Linked DNA regions of Homo sapiens: regions 1, 2, 3 and 5 are each linked to region 4. The links are contacts of gene promoters, found by promoter capture Hi-C in blood cells and fetal thymus (Javierre and others, 2016). All regions are on one chromosome and are shown on one strand. Each heading gives the region's core, a stretch centred on a gene start or on the middle of the fragment in contact. The rest is flanking DNA. Distances are from core to core; before and after follow the strand shown.

Region 1 (2,706 bases), core at 99-2,598, 270 kb after region 4:
AGCAAGCTTTTAGGGTAAAACATGTGCAGGTGGCCATATCTCCGATTTTAATGCAAAACTCATAGCCACTTGGGGAGGGGGTTAGCTAAGCATCTTTACAAAGGGTTATGTATGGTACAGGCATTGTTTAAAGAGCTTACTGCAGAGCAGCTTGGTATATGGGGGTGAAACATTCATCATCATATGGCGGTTTTAAGATGGCATCACTCTTGTCACACTGTTTTCCTGTACAACCTACAATAGAAGAGCCATTCTGGCGTGTCCACTTCTCTGAGACTTTGCATACCTTCCTCCAGGGCTGTTCTGACATCTCCACTTCATCGCCTATGCACTATCACTTCTTCCAAGCTTTCAAGAACTGCCTCAAGTGCTGGGCACTGTGGCTCACACCTGTAATCCCAGCACTTTGGGAGGCCAAGGTGGACAGATCACTTGAGGTCAAGAGTTCGAGACCAGCCTGGCCAACATGGCAAAATCCCATCTCCACTAAAAAAAAAAAAAACAATACATTATCTGGGCATGGTGGTGCATGCCTGTAATCCCAGGTACTCGGGAGGCTGAGACAGGAGGATCGCTTGAACCTGGGAAGTGGAGGTTGCAGAGCCAAGATCGCACCACTGTACTCCAGCCTGGGCGACAGAGAGAAATTCTGTCTCAAAAAAAAAGAACCCTCCCAAGCAACATATTAGAATCTTCCCAGGGCCTTTTTAGGGGTTAGGGAGTCTTTCTGTACTAATTAACTCTCCAGTCTCCAGCTACTATGCAGCCTCCCTTGATCTAGAACCTTCAGAGTCCACATCTAGGAACATTCTCTAGACCCGGCTGGTCCCTGCTGGCTTGCTCCCACCACTCCTCTGCTTGTTAATCCCTCTTGGTCCCTGGCATGCAAAGCACATCCTTGGTCAGGTCATGCTGAGATATGATCCAGCTTTGAGCCTGGTGGTCAGGAGGGGAGGTGGGGACAGATGCTGGAGAGAGGAACTCCTTATCTTGTAAGGTCCCTTCCCTTAGTTTCTGCATGGTCTTTAAGCAAAAGAGGACCTCTGTCTTCCAACAGAGGCAATGGGTCACTTCTGCAGGCCAGGAGGTACAGGAGAATCTGGGGGTTCAATGTCTCAAGAGTGTCTCCTCAGATAGTCCATCTCAGATATCAGGGACCCCACCCTTCCCTTTGGGGCCCTGACTTTGGAGAAGGGACTTCCCTGGGCTGGAAATTTGGCCTTCTCTGGAGTCCTGCACCTTGTCTTCTGCCCTCTGACCCCTGGCTATAGAAGAGAAGCATTTCGTTAAATTCTGCCAAGGAATCCTGACTTTGCTTTAAATTGGTGATGCGTGGCCCTGAACTTGTCATTTTCCCTCTTCTAAGTGTCAGTAGTATTCAGTGACAGCCTCCCCACTCCACGTCCTTCTCACGGCTATTTTCCCATCTGTCTCTCAACATCAGTGATATTAAACGAGCCGGGCATCCCCGTCCACCTGAGTCCTGTCCCAGGTGACCACAGGCGGAGGCCTGAGCAGCTGCTCTGCCACCTCGTGCCAGGGGCCTCCGCAACGGGCTCCAGTCACCAGGGGCCAGCGGGGCATCCTCCTGCAGCATCCCGTCCTTGGGGCCAGCTTCCTGGGGCCCCTCCTGCTGTTCCCTGCCTTCAGCTGTCTGAAAACAGAGCCCAAGACAGGGATTTACTAGGGGAGGGCTCATCCTGGGACAAGCCGCCCAGGATGTGAGGGCAGAGGGGCGGGGAAGGAGAAAGGACTCGGTAAAGGCGTGGTCCCAGGGTAAATACAGCTCTGGCAGATATGCAGGGGGCCCTGGGGCAGAGGTATCGCCATCTAGAGGCAGGCGAGGGAACAGTCTTTTGTACAGTTAGCCGTGGGCTGTGGGCGTCGCCTGAACGTACCAGGTATTGTGGCTCCATTGGCTGAGGATGCTTCTCCAGCGAAGGAGGCAGGGAGCCGGGGAAGTGGGGTGGGGTCGCGACACCGACAGCAGCTGCCAGACCAGCCATGCTGCGCTCAGCTCCCTCAGGCTGTCACTCTTAATCATCATGTCACTATCTCTGGGGCGTGTCAGTCACCATCAACGACGTGTCCCCCAAGCTGCAGAGGACGCAAATCCAGCTCTCCAAGAGGCTCTGTTGGCCCTCTCCACATGGGCTTGAGGTCAGGGGTGGGGGCACGTTCGGACCGCCCTCCTGCCTCTCTGAAGAAGATCCTCCAAGTCCCGGCTCCAGCTCTCCGGCCTCTTTGGCAGCTGGGCGGGTGGCCATCCAGGAGGCCCGTTCTCCATGCCCAGTTTGGCAAGGCTCCTTGGGACGCCGGGCTCGCTGCCCCTGTTTTCTTAAAGCTTCGGCCCAAAGGGACCCAGAGTCTGAGGTTAACACTCCGTCATCCCAGCGTGAGCGGCGCCTGACTCCAGCTCTCGACTCCCCCACCTCCTATCCCCTGCGCCGGGCTCACCCTGCACTCCCACCTGCAAATCAGCAGAGCAGAGGCCAGCGCTCCCGACGTCCAGCACCACCCCAAGCGAGGCAGGGGGAGCTGAGTGGCCGGGAGCGCCATCTAGTGGGTGCCAGGGGCGAGTCCCCGAAAGAGACTGGAGAGCCACGACTCGGGCAGGGCAGGATGGTGTCCCAGGGAGGGCCGGGGCCCAGGCGCTGGACAGCAGAGGACATAAAGGGAGAGGCATGGGAGAGCGAGGAGCCAGGG
Region 2 (2,700 bases), core at 1-2,500, 370 kb after region 4:
CCCCGCTGCCGATGCCCATCTTGCATCAGGCGTTCACGCTCTGCCAGCAGGGCCACCTCCTGTGCCTCCACGCTGGCCCGCTGGGCCTGCAGCTGCTCGTGCCTGGGATGGACAAGGGGCTAAGAGGGCTGTGTGAACCTATGGCCACCACAAGCAGCTGGCTGGACTATCTGGACCCGGGGCGGGGGGGTCTGTCACCTCCTAAGCCTAGGTCCCCCAGAGGAAGCCATTGGGCAGAATGCCATGCCAGGTGCCCACCACTCCCAATAGGTGAGCCCCACGGGGAGCCCAACCCAGAAGTGTGGGGAGCACAGCTACCCCAGAGGGCACAGCAGTGGCCGGGGCATCACAGAGCGGAGGTGGAGGTGCTTCCTGATGGGGAGTCAGACCTGCTGAGGGGAGTCTTCTCTGGCAGATAGGGGGTGCCAGGGGAGGAGCTGGGCATTTGGTGATGCTCACCGGCCCTGCAGCTCCCGGTGGGCCAGCTCCAGTGCCCGCATGTTGGCCTTGAGGTCTCGGTGCCGCACCAGCAGTCCCTCTAGCTCGGCCTCCTGCCGCCGCTGCAGCTGTGCCAGGGCCTTGTGGTCCCGAAGCAGGGCCTGCTGCTGCCCGCGGGTCTCCTCCTGGGACTGCCGTGCCGCCCGCACCTCCTCCTCCAGCACCTCCAGCTTCCGGTGCAGCTCCTGGCCCTGAATCTCCAGCACAGACTTCTCGGCCTAGGATGGAGGAGGGAAGCAGGGGCTGCTGGGGAGGAACCCCTGGCTGGAAATCGAGTGAGAGGCGGGGGGCTAAGGGCAGACGGTAGGGCCCAAGACAATGAGAGAGTTGTGGAGGAGGCAAAGGGCTGGGGGCACAGCAGGCAGTACAAGCCCCAGCCAGAGGCTGATGGTGAGCAGGGGAGAGGCGGCAGAGGCTGGCTGGGCCAGGCTGTCCGGAAGGGGCACAGGGCAGAATGGGACTAATGGCGCCCTGTGGAGGGGAGGGCTGGGACAGTGAGAGCGCAGGGCGACATGGGTGTAGATGTGGGGGCTGGCGGCAGGTAGGAGGAGATAGTGGCAGGGAGGATGGTGCAAAATGGTGGCTGGGGTCAGAGGACAAGGATAAATGAGACTGGGGAAGAGGTGGGGCAGCTGGCTGGGAGCTGGGATAGAAAAAGGCCACAGGATGATCCAAAAGGAGCAGGAGGGGGCAGTACATGGGCAGGGATGGGCACCCGGGCCACCACCCACCTGCAGGCGGCTGCTGTGCTCCTGCGCCCGCTGGCTCTGCAGCAGCAGCTCCTGGGCACGGCCCTGCAGGCTCCCCAGCTGCCCCTCCAGGTGCTGCAGCTGCCCCTGCAAAGCTGCCTTCTCTGCCACCAGCATCGCATTCTGCCCAGAAGTGGGGGTTAGCAATAGCCAGGTGGCGGGGGCACCCCCTAGTGCCTACCACAGGCCCACACTCACACTGCATGGGGCACCCCCACCCCCGGGCCCACTGTGAGTCCACACTCACACTGCACGGGATACCCCCCAGCCCAGGGTCCACCGTGGACCCACACTCACACTGCACGGGGCACCTCCCCAGGGCCCACTGTGGGCCCACACTCACACTGCGCTCCACCTCAATAAGCCGCACATTCTGGGTCTCCACCAGCTGAGGCTCCGCACGCTTTTTGGGCCCCAGCCCCGCGGGGCCCTGGCGCAGCTGCAAGGAGAGTCCCTGGGAGGTCATGCGGGACAGCCGCAGTGCCTTGGGGATGCCTCAAGGACCTGCGCTTATGGACCTGCCCTGCCAGCAGCATTTAGCCTAGTCCACCCCGCCCCAATCCCATGCCTTCCCTTGGATCCCACAAGTCCCTGCTCCTGGTTCCTGAAGCTCCACCGTCACCACCCTGCCCTTCTCAACTTCTGTCTCTCTGCGGCAGAGCCTTCTGCTCATAACACTTCTCCATCCCACTACTCCTCTAAGACTATTTGGTTTTTTGTTTTTGTTTTGAGACAGAGTCTCACTCTGCCACCCAGCCAGGAGTGCAGAGGTGTGATCTGGGCTCACTGCAACCTCTGCCTCCCGGGTTCAAGCAATTCTCCTGCCTTAGCCTCCCGAGTAGCTGGGATTACAGATGTGGGCCACCACGCCTGGCTAATTTTTAGGGTTTTTTTTGTTTTTTTGGGTTTTTTTGAGACGGAGTCACACTCTGTCACCCGGGCTGGAGTGCAGTGGTGTGATCTCGGCTCACTGCAACCTCCTCCTCCCAGGTTCAAGCAATTCCCCTGCCTCGGCCTCCTGAGTAGCTGGGACTACAGGCGCCCACTACCATGCCCAGCTAACAGCTAATTTTTGTTGTTGTTGTTGTATTTTTAGTAGAGATGGGGTTTCACGGTGTTCATCAGGATGCTCTCGATCTCCTGACCTCATGATCCATCTGCCTCGGCCTCCCAAAGTGCTGGGATTACAGGCGTGAGCCACCACGCCCGGCCTGATTTTTGTATTTTTAGTAGAGATGGGGTTTCACCATATTGGTCATGCTGGTCTCGAACTCCTGACCTCAGGTGATCCACCTGCCTTGGCCTCCCAAAGTGCTGGGATTACAGGCATGAGCTGCTGTGTGGGGCCTTCTCTAAGCCTCTGTTTCAACCCCACCTTCTCCACAAAACCTTCCCTGATAGACTCGCATGCACCTGCTGGGTATCTTGCTGGGTACCACCCTCCCAAGCCCCT
Region 3 (2,700 bases), core at 107-2,606, 300 kb after region 4:
ATTCCCCGTCTATGTCAGTGACTCATCCTGGAATCAGAGCCTTTTGGCAGTGGAGCCTATAAATGGCTGCAGCTCTGATCAATAACTTGGCTACAATCTCATGAGAAACCTCAAATCTGAGCCATCCTGCTAAGTAAACCATTCCAGAATTACTGCCCCACAGACACTATGTGAGATAATAAATGTTTATTGTTGCTTTAAGCCACTAAGTTTTTTAATAAACTTTTTTAATAGAGATGAGGTCTTGCTCCATTGCCCAGGCTCATCTCAAACTCCTGAGCTCAAGCCATCCTCCCACCTCAGTCTCCCAAAGTGCTGGGATTACAGGTGAGAGCCACCACACCCAGACTGTTTTTTAATAATTTGTTATGCAGCAATAGATAGGTAATACAAATGGTCATCCATTCTTTATTTAAATCCTTCCAGGATCAGAGAATTCATCTATTCATTCATTCAACAAACAGTTTAATAACTGTTGGTATCTACTCTGTGCTGGCCAAATAGTTACCACCCCTCCCTGTGGGAGCATGGTATCTCCCTAAGCCCATCAAGTCTGAAGACATATTTGATCATGTGATTCTCTGTGGCCAATAAAATGTGAACAGAGGGATATAAGCCACTTCTGAGCAGAGGCTTTAAAGTCATTTCTCAGTTCTGCCATCACTCTTTTTCCTGTGCCTCAAAACCAGCAGTTTCATAGCTGATCTTTCAGCCTGAATCCTAGAATGAAAAAAACATAGAACAGGCTCACACCTACTGCAGGCAATGTGCAACATTAATAAGAACAACCCTTTTTATTATAATTATTATAAGCCACTGAGTTTGGTACCTGTTTGTTACTTGGCATAACCCAGCAAAAGCTGACTGATACAGTCACACTGCATCCAGACCTGGTGGGATGACTTTTTTATCTGAGTCTTCTTTATCCTGGCTTTCCTCCTCAGAATGCTTCCTGGTTCCTAATTGTTTCTCAAAAATGTGCCTCCCAGGAGTCAACATGATGGAGTCTGATCAGCCCAGGGCATGTTGGCCTTCCTTTCCAAGACCTGGCTGTCAAACACTCACAACATGGCTCCTTGAGACTTGGGAAACTTTGTTGCCTGGCAGCCTCACAGCCTGGAACACAGAGCTTCCCACATACAGCTAGAGAAGAATGCCTCCAGGGACCAAAATGACGTCATGAGTCCACATTCTAAAGCTTGAGAACTTGTCCCTGAGGACAGATTTCTAACCTCCTTAGAACCTAATTAGGCTTCCCAACCTGCAATCTAACGAGCTTGGTGATGTGGCTGCCAAGTTTACAGCAGATTCAAAGGTATGAATTAAAGATAAATCAAAATGCCAGGCAACCCAGCAGAATCGACGAAACAAACAAGAGTTGGCTGAGCGCCAAATGGTGTCAGGCACGACCCATCTCACAACCATCTGTAAAATAGGTATTAATGTGCCCATTTTACAGGAAAGGAAACTGAGGCTCAGATAGGTCACTAATTTGACAAAGGTCACAAGCTTGTCAATAAGGATTCAAATGGGCATATGGTAGAGACGATATGAATGGCAGCTCCTGGTGCTGATTTTGGCATTGGTGCTGGTTGAAGGGAAGGCAGAGCCAGCGGGGAGGAAGAAAACCATGAGATGGGAGGGTAGGGGGAGATTTTCAGTGGAACAAGGACCCAAGTGGAGAAGGGATGAGCCCCGGGGTATGGAAGAGTGGGGTACAGGGGAGGAGGGAGCACCTGGGAGCCCAGGGAACCCTGGAAAACCATCCCCACCTCAGAGAGGGCCTTCCTTAGGGCAGGCCATCCCTCGCTGTGCTCCCCAGAAGGCCAAGCCCTAGCCTGGGTGACATGACCTGGCCACTGCACTGCACTGCCTTCCCGGGCTCACACAGCGCCAGGCTCTCACAGGACCATTTGTTGAGCTCTAGGAGTCTGGACCGATTGGCACATATGTATGGACCAGGACAACATCCAGTGCCAGGTTTATTGCTGCCAAGCCAGAATGGAGACTGCTTATGCCCATGGAAATGAACTTGCCAGTGCCGGCCCAGGCACAAGAGCTGGACAACTGCCCCTGGTGGGGGCTGCCCCTTGGAAGAGAGCAGAGGTGCAGCTGGCAGACAGGAGGGCCGAAGAGAGACGGACGGAAGCAGCTAGTGATCCCCTGCTCGGGACCCTGCTTCTGTCCAAGATCGCCTGGGTCCCGTTTCCTCCCGAGGAGGGCACAGAGAGAGCCCCAGGCATTCCTTCACCTGTTCTCTCCAGGGAGGCCCAGAGGCTGCACATTCCCCTCAGGACAGACAAGTGTCCGGCCCAGCACTGCGTGTGGGCACAGACAGGAGGAGGAGTTGGGGCACCAGCATTCTCCATCCAGACACCTGACTAAGACCAGGACCACCTGGCATTTTGGAAACCTTGATGAACACCTTCCCAGGGTTTATCTAAATTATTCTTTTTAACTTTTATTGTGGTGAAATATGTATATCGTAAAATTTATCATTTTAGCCATTCTTAAGTATACAGTCCAGTGACATTAAGTGCATTGTTGTGTGACCATCCCCACCATTCAGCTCCAGAACTTTTTCATCTTCCCAACCAGAACTCCACACTAACCCCCCATTTGCCCCTCCCCCAGCCCCTGGCACCCACCATTCCACTCTCTGACTCTATGCATCTCACTCCAGGTGCCTCCTATAAGTGG
Region 4 (2,700 bases), core at 45-2,544:
TTTCTGCAGGTGTTCTTATGTGTCTCTGGGAATGCCCAGTGTTCACAGATATGTGTGCATGGCTGTGAGTGCCCCAATGTCCATGCATTGGTGGTTGAATGTAAGTGTTCTTGCATGTTGCCTCTGGCTAAGGAAGTGCCAACTACCACCAGCTGTGCAGATCACAGACCCTGCAACAGAAACCAGGGTCCTGGAGTGAGCTGGCAGAATGGTCTGGCACACATACACACACACACTCTGTCTCTCACTGTCTCATTCAGCAGCCCAGTGACCAACCTCGGGGTATACACACTAAGTGCCAGTGTGTGTACACTTTTATTGGCGGAGTGAGTGAAGGGTGTCCCCCAGTCCCCCACACTCATACACATGCACAGTGATGCATGTACCCTTACAGGAGAGACCTGCGCCCCCCAGCACCACTCTAACTGAAACTCATGGATGGGAGGAGGAGAACAGAGAAGGGGGCTGCTGCCAGGTGCCCTCAGTCACCAGGCATGTGCAGGCGCAACCCTGCCCCCACACCTACTCGTACCTCGGTCCAGGGTTCCAGGCAGAACTGAGAGTTTGGCCTCAAACTCTGGGATTCCCATGAGGCAGGACTGGGAAACCCCCAAGTTCCTAGGTCTACCCCGCCCCCATCTCTGCCTTTCCTTCCCCCACCGCCTCCGTCTTTATCCCAGCAAAGCCCCTTCCTCTTCAGTTCTGGGGGCTCCAAGCCAGGGGCCCTCCGGACGGTGGGAGGTGGGGGCCAGGCTACCGACTGGAAAAAGCCCCCAGCAGCCATGGACCCACCGAGTCCCCCTTCTCTAGGCTCCTCGAAGCCCGGGCCCGCCCCTGGGGGTAGCCAGCAGAGGGCGCTGCGGCCCAGGCCCCGCATCAGCCCTGCTCTCGCGGCGTCCCAAGTCGGGGTCCACAGCCTCTCCTTCGGCTTGTCCCAGCCCCGCGCTGCGCGAAGACCTGCTGGCCGTGGGGGGAGGGTGCGGGACCCAAGGCCCCGAACTAAGGGGCGAGGGGCGAGGGGCGAGAGTGCTTGGGTTCCCGGAAAAGACACTGAGGCCGGGTTTGGGGCCCGCCTGGTTGGGGGCCCGGGCGCCCGAGAACCTCGAGAGGCTGGGAGGAGCGCGGGTGCTGGGGCCGGGACGCCTGGGTCCCGCGCGAGGGAGGGAGTGGGCCTGTGGAGCCGCTGGACTGGCGGCTTCTGAGCCCTTGCATTGGCTGCGCTGCTCGCCCGTCAGCGCAGCGTGGTCCAATGCGCGCGTCTCGGGGGCGGGCACTGGTGCTGATGCTGCCGTCAGTCGGTGTTGCAGGGATGCGGCGGCGGGAGCAGCCGCCCTGACTCGCGGAGCATCCTCCTCGGAGAGGCACCGCGGCGGGGCGGGCGGGCGGGCGGGGACGCGGCGGGGAGGGAGAGAGGCGCGAGGCGGCAGACACCGCTAGCCCTGGCTCTGCCACCCGTCGGAGACGGGGCGGCCCTGTAGCTCTGCTACCCACCCTCCAGCTTCTGGCGCCCCGAGAACCAGGTAAAATGGGGGGGGGGGGGCGCTGCGGCGGAGACGGGCGGGGGGCGGGAGCCGATCGGGGGAGGGGAGCGGATCGGAGGGGGCGAGGGAGGCAGGACGGATGAATTGGGGGGCGGGGGCGCCGCGCTGAGAGGGCTGGCCCGGTGACAGCGAGGAGGCAAAGCCGCTGGGGGCTTGGGGGTCGGAGGCTCCTGTGGAAGGGGCACTGGCCCTGAGAGCTGAGGAGAATGGGGAGGGGTGGGAGGAAGGGTCTTTGGGGGAAGGGATGGAGAGAGGAGGGGCATCCAGAGGACTTAGAGGGGGTTCTTAAAGGGGGGTCCCCAGTCTGTGCTAGCCCCAGAGGCTTGAAGCAGCGCCGGGCCAGAGGAGCTGTTGTGTTCTGGAGGGTCTAACCAGCGAGAAACTGGGCTTCGTGGGAGGAGAGGAGAGGGGGCTGGAGAAGAGAGAGAAGTGGAGAGGGAAGGAAAGGGGCCAGGCCAAGGGCTTCGTCCTGAGGGGACCCACTGAGGACCAGGCTTTCCTGGGGGATGGGAGCCAAGGGGAGAAGAGGTTATTGGGAGAGAGCAGAGGGGAATGTGCCAAGGTGCTCCAGGCAGAGATGGGTCTGTGCTGGTGGAGAGCTGGGAAAGATGGGGTCTGAGGGAGAGGAGCGGAAGCTTGCGGGGGAAGGCTGGGGGTGATGAGACAGGGAGACTGGGAAATCAGTAGGAGGGGGCTTTGCTGGGGTGGGAATGCGCTGGGGGCGGTGACAGGGTTCTGGTCAGAGAGTGCTGCAGGGGGAGAGGAAGCTGCAGGGCCCTTGGCTTGCTCCCCCACCCCTAAAGAGGAAGGGACCATTTCTCATGTCCCAGCCTCCTCCCCCAGCTGAAGCAGCAATCTTCCCTGGGGTCTTTGGGTTGGGGTATGAGCCCTTGAACCCTTGATGGGCTTTTGGGGCACAATTGGCTTTGGGGTGCTGTTGTCTCCTTTACTCTCACCCCCCTCCTGAATCTTGGGAGAGGGCATTCGATGCCTCATTGAGCTAGCAAGGGCTGGGAGGGGCTTTTTCTTGGTGTCTGGAGGTGAAGGAGGAGGCTGTCCACCTGGAATAATGAAATAGATTTTTAGGGGGTGGGTCTTGGGTCCCCAGTCCCTTGGCTGCCCTGGGGGCTTCCAGATAGCCCTGTTTTTTCATGTGTTG
Region 5 (2,700 bases), core at 100-2,599, 420 kb before region 4:
TCATTTTTAGTATACTCACAAAATTGTGCAAGCATAGCCACTATCTCCTCAGGAACATTTTTATCACTCCTCAAATAATAAACCCCATACCAATTAGCAGTCAGGCCCCATTCCTCACGCCACCAGCCCTTGGCAACCACTAACTACTTCTGTCTGTATGGACTTGTCTATTCTGGACATGTAACGTAAGTGCAGTGATATGAATGCTTTTTTCACTGAGCACAGGGTTTTCAAGGTTCATCAATGTTGTAGCATGAAGCAGTACTTCCTTCCTGTTTATGGCTAAATAATACTCCATTGTGTGGGTACATTACATTTTGTTTAGCCATTCATGGACATTTGGGTTGTTTGTACTTTTTGGCTATTATGAATAATGCTGCTACGAATGTTCTTGTACAAGTGTTTGTATGACCAGATGCTTTCAGTTCTCTTGAACATATACCTAGAAGTAGAATTTCTGGGTCATATGGTAATTTTATGTTTAATTTACTGAAGAACTGCCAAACTGTTTTCCAAAGCATTTACACTATTTTACATTCCCACCAGAAACACATAAGGGTGCCAATTTCTCCACATCTTGCCAACACTTGTTATTGTTGGTCTTTTTTTTATCACAATGATTTTAGTGGGTATGAAATCATCTCTCTATGGTTTTGATTTACATCTCCATAATGACCAGTGATGTTTAACATATTTTTTTGTGCTTATTAACCATTTTCTTTTCTTTTTCTTTCTTTTAGAGATAGGGTCTCTCTCTGTCACTCTGGCTGGAGTGCAGTGGCATGATCTTAGGATCATAGCTCACTGCAGCCTTGAACTCCTGGGCTTGAGCAATCCTCCCACCACAGCCTCTTGAGTAGCTGAGACTACAGCCACCACACCTGGATAATTTATTTTTTGTAGGAGGGGGGTCTCACTATGTTGCCAAGGCTGAGAGGATTGCTTGAGCTCAGGAGTTGGAGACCAGCCTGCGCAACATGGCAAGACTCTGACTCTACAAAAAATACAGTAAACAAACGAACAAATAAAAATTTAAAAGACAGACCTAACCATTCTCTCCCTAATGGATATGTGGTTCTATTGTCTTGTTTCACTATTTCAAACAATGCTGTGGCAATCATCCTTGGACTTAAAATCTTTGGGGTCATGTACAAGCTCTTCAACAAGATAGATTCCTGAAAGGGGAAAATCCAGGTCAAAATGTAAGTTTGCTTTCAACAACTTTTATGTCAACTTAACTGAGATATAATTGTATGTTAATACAATAAGATTTGCCAGTTTTAACATACAATAAGATTAGTCACTTACACAATTTGGTGTGCTTTAACAAACATGTATAAGTCAGGTAATTACCACCACTACCATGATATAGAGAATGTTTCCACTATCCAAAAAGTTTGCTTGTGCCATAGAGCAATCTGTCCTCTCCCCTAGCCTCTGTCCCTGGCAACTACTTGAGATGCTCTCTGTCACTAGTTCTATGAACATATATTTGCATTTATCTTGGGTAACTTAAGAACGGAATTGCTGGGTCATATGGTAAATGTATACTTAACTTTATAAGAAATTACCGAACCTTTTTTCAATATGGCTATACCGTTTTGTATTCCCACCTGCAATCTAAGATAATTCTAGGTGTTCCACATCATTACCACCACTTTGTATGACATCTTTTTAATTTAACTATTCTAGTACTAATAGTATGGCATTGCTTTCAATGAATTTATCTAATAATGATGGTGTTGAGCACATTTTATGGGATTATTCTCATCTGAATACCTTTGATTAAATGTCTGCTCAAAATGTTGGCCCATTTTGTATTAGCTTTTCATTTTTTTATTAGTAAGTTATAATATGTATTCTCAATATGAGTCCTTTGTCAGATATACGCTTGGCAAATATTTTCTCCCAATTTTTCTCCCTTTAACTGTCATTTGAACAGATAAAGTGTTTAGTTAGGATTAAATCCAATTTATCAATTTGTTTCTTTGATAGTTTATGCTATTTGTATCCTATTTAAGACATTTTTGCCTAACCCAACATTACTAAGATTTTTTTGTTTTCTTCTAGAGATATTACAGTTTTATGTTTTACATTTAGACCTACGGTTCATTTCAAGTTAAGTGTTGTATACGATGCAAGGTAGGGAATGAGGTTTTTTGTTTTCATATGGATATCCAATTATTTCAGCACTTTTGTTGAAAAATCATCTTTCGGCCGGGCATGGTGGCTCATGCCTGTAATCCCAGCAATTTGGGAGACTGAGGCAGGCGAATCACCTGAGGTCAGGAGTTCGAGATCAGCCTGACAAACATGGTGAAACCCCGTTTCTACTAAAAATACAAAAATTAGCCGGGTGTGGTGACACGCGCCTGTAATCCCAGCTACTTGGGAGGCTGAGGCAGGAGAAATGCTTGAACCCCAGGAGGTGGAGGTTTCAGTGAGCCAAAATCACACCACTGCACTCCAGCCTGGGTGACAGAGCAAGACTCTGTCTCAAAAAAAAAAAAAAAAAGAAAGAAAAATCATCTTTCACCATTGAATTGCCTTGTTACCTATATTGAAAATCAATATATTGCGGGGCGCGGTAGCTCACGCCTGTAATTCCAGCACTTTGGGAGGCCGAGGCAGGCAGATCATGAGGTCAGGAGATTGAGACCATCCTGGCTAATACGGTGAAACCCCGTCTCTACTAAAAAT

Evidence for each region. The method cuts DNA at HindIII sites, captures the fragments that hold promoters and counts their contacts. A CHiCAGO score of 5 or more calls a contact.
Region 1: a contact is called between a fragment that was not itself captured here and the fragment with the promoter of NRXN2 in region 4, in 2 of 17 cell types (megakaryocytes and M0 macrophages). The highest score is 7.2, in megakaryocytes.
Region 2: a contact is called between a fragment that was not itself captured here and the fragment with the promoter of NRXN2 in region 4, in 1 of 17 cell types (M0 macrophages). The highest score is 6.8, in M0 macrophages.
Region 3: a fragment that was not itself captured here is called in contact with the fragment with the promoter of NRXN2 in region 4 in 6 of 17 cell types (endothelial precursors, M1 macrophages, M2 macrophages and 3 more); the score reaches 9.6 in endothelial precursors.
Region 5: a fragment that was not itself captured here is called in contact with the fragment with the promoter of NRXN2 in region 4 in 1 of 17 cell types (neutrophils); the score reaches 6.8 in neutrophils.

The regions. Positions count from the first base shown.
Region 1 is chr11:64,448,845-64,451,550 of GRCh38, reverse strand. LINC02724 (long intergenic non-protein coding RNA 2724) reads right to left here and starts at 2,494. Exons shown (of 2, transcript NR_073177.1): 1 at 1,899-2,494; 2 at 1-1,654. RefSeq lists a silencer at 1,774-1,969, a cis regulatory region at 1,747-2,016 and an enhancer at 1,906-2,155. The HindIII fragment of the contact is 1,996 bases long and covers 351-2,346 here.
Region 2 is chr11:64,350,146-64,352,845 of GRCh38, reverse strand. It overlaps CCDC88B (coiled-coil domain containing 88B), which reads right to left. Exons shown (of 27, transcript NM_032251.6): 17 at 1,591-1,686; 18 at 1,230-1,370; 19 at 460-716; 20 at 1-102. Among named protein-coding and RNA genes, the nearest start is that of RPS6KA4, 7.7 kb to the left of the region's middle. The HindIII fragment of the contact is 5,801 bases long and covers 1-2,700 here.
Region 3 is chr11:64,418,752-64,421,451 of GRCh38, reverse strand. LOC105369341 (a long non-coding RNA gene) reads left to right here and starts at 1,237. Exons shown (of 4, transcript XR_001748069.2): 1 at 1,237-1,315. LOC124902689 (a long non-coding RNA gene) reads right to left here. Exons shown (of 2, transcript XR_007062720.1): 1 at 830-2,700; 2 at 382-720. The HindIII fragment of the contact is 311 bases long and covers 1,201-1,511 here.
Region 4 is chr11:64,721,791-64,724,490 of GRCh38, reverse strand. It overlaps NRXN2 (neurexin 2), which reads left to right and starts at 1,294. Exons shown (of 23, transcript NM_015080.4): 1 at 1,294-1,520. RefSeq lists an enhancer at 404-453 and silencers at 834-1,133, 1,120-1,414. The HindIII fragment of the contact is 9,459 bases long and covers 1-2,178 here.
Region 5 is chr11:65,139,541-65,142,240 of GRCh38, reverse strand. No RefSeq gene overlaps it. Among named protein-coding and RNA genes, the nearest start is that of SYVN1, 6.4 kb to the right of the region's middle. The HindIII fragment of the contact is 8,517 bases long and covers 1-2,700 here.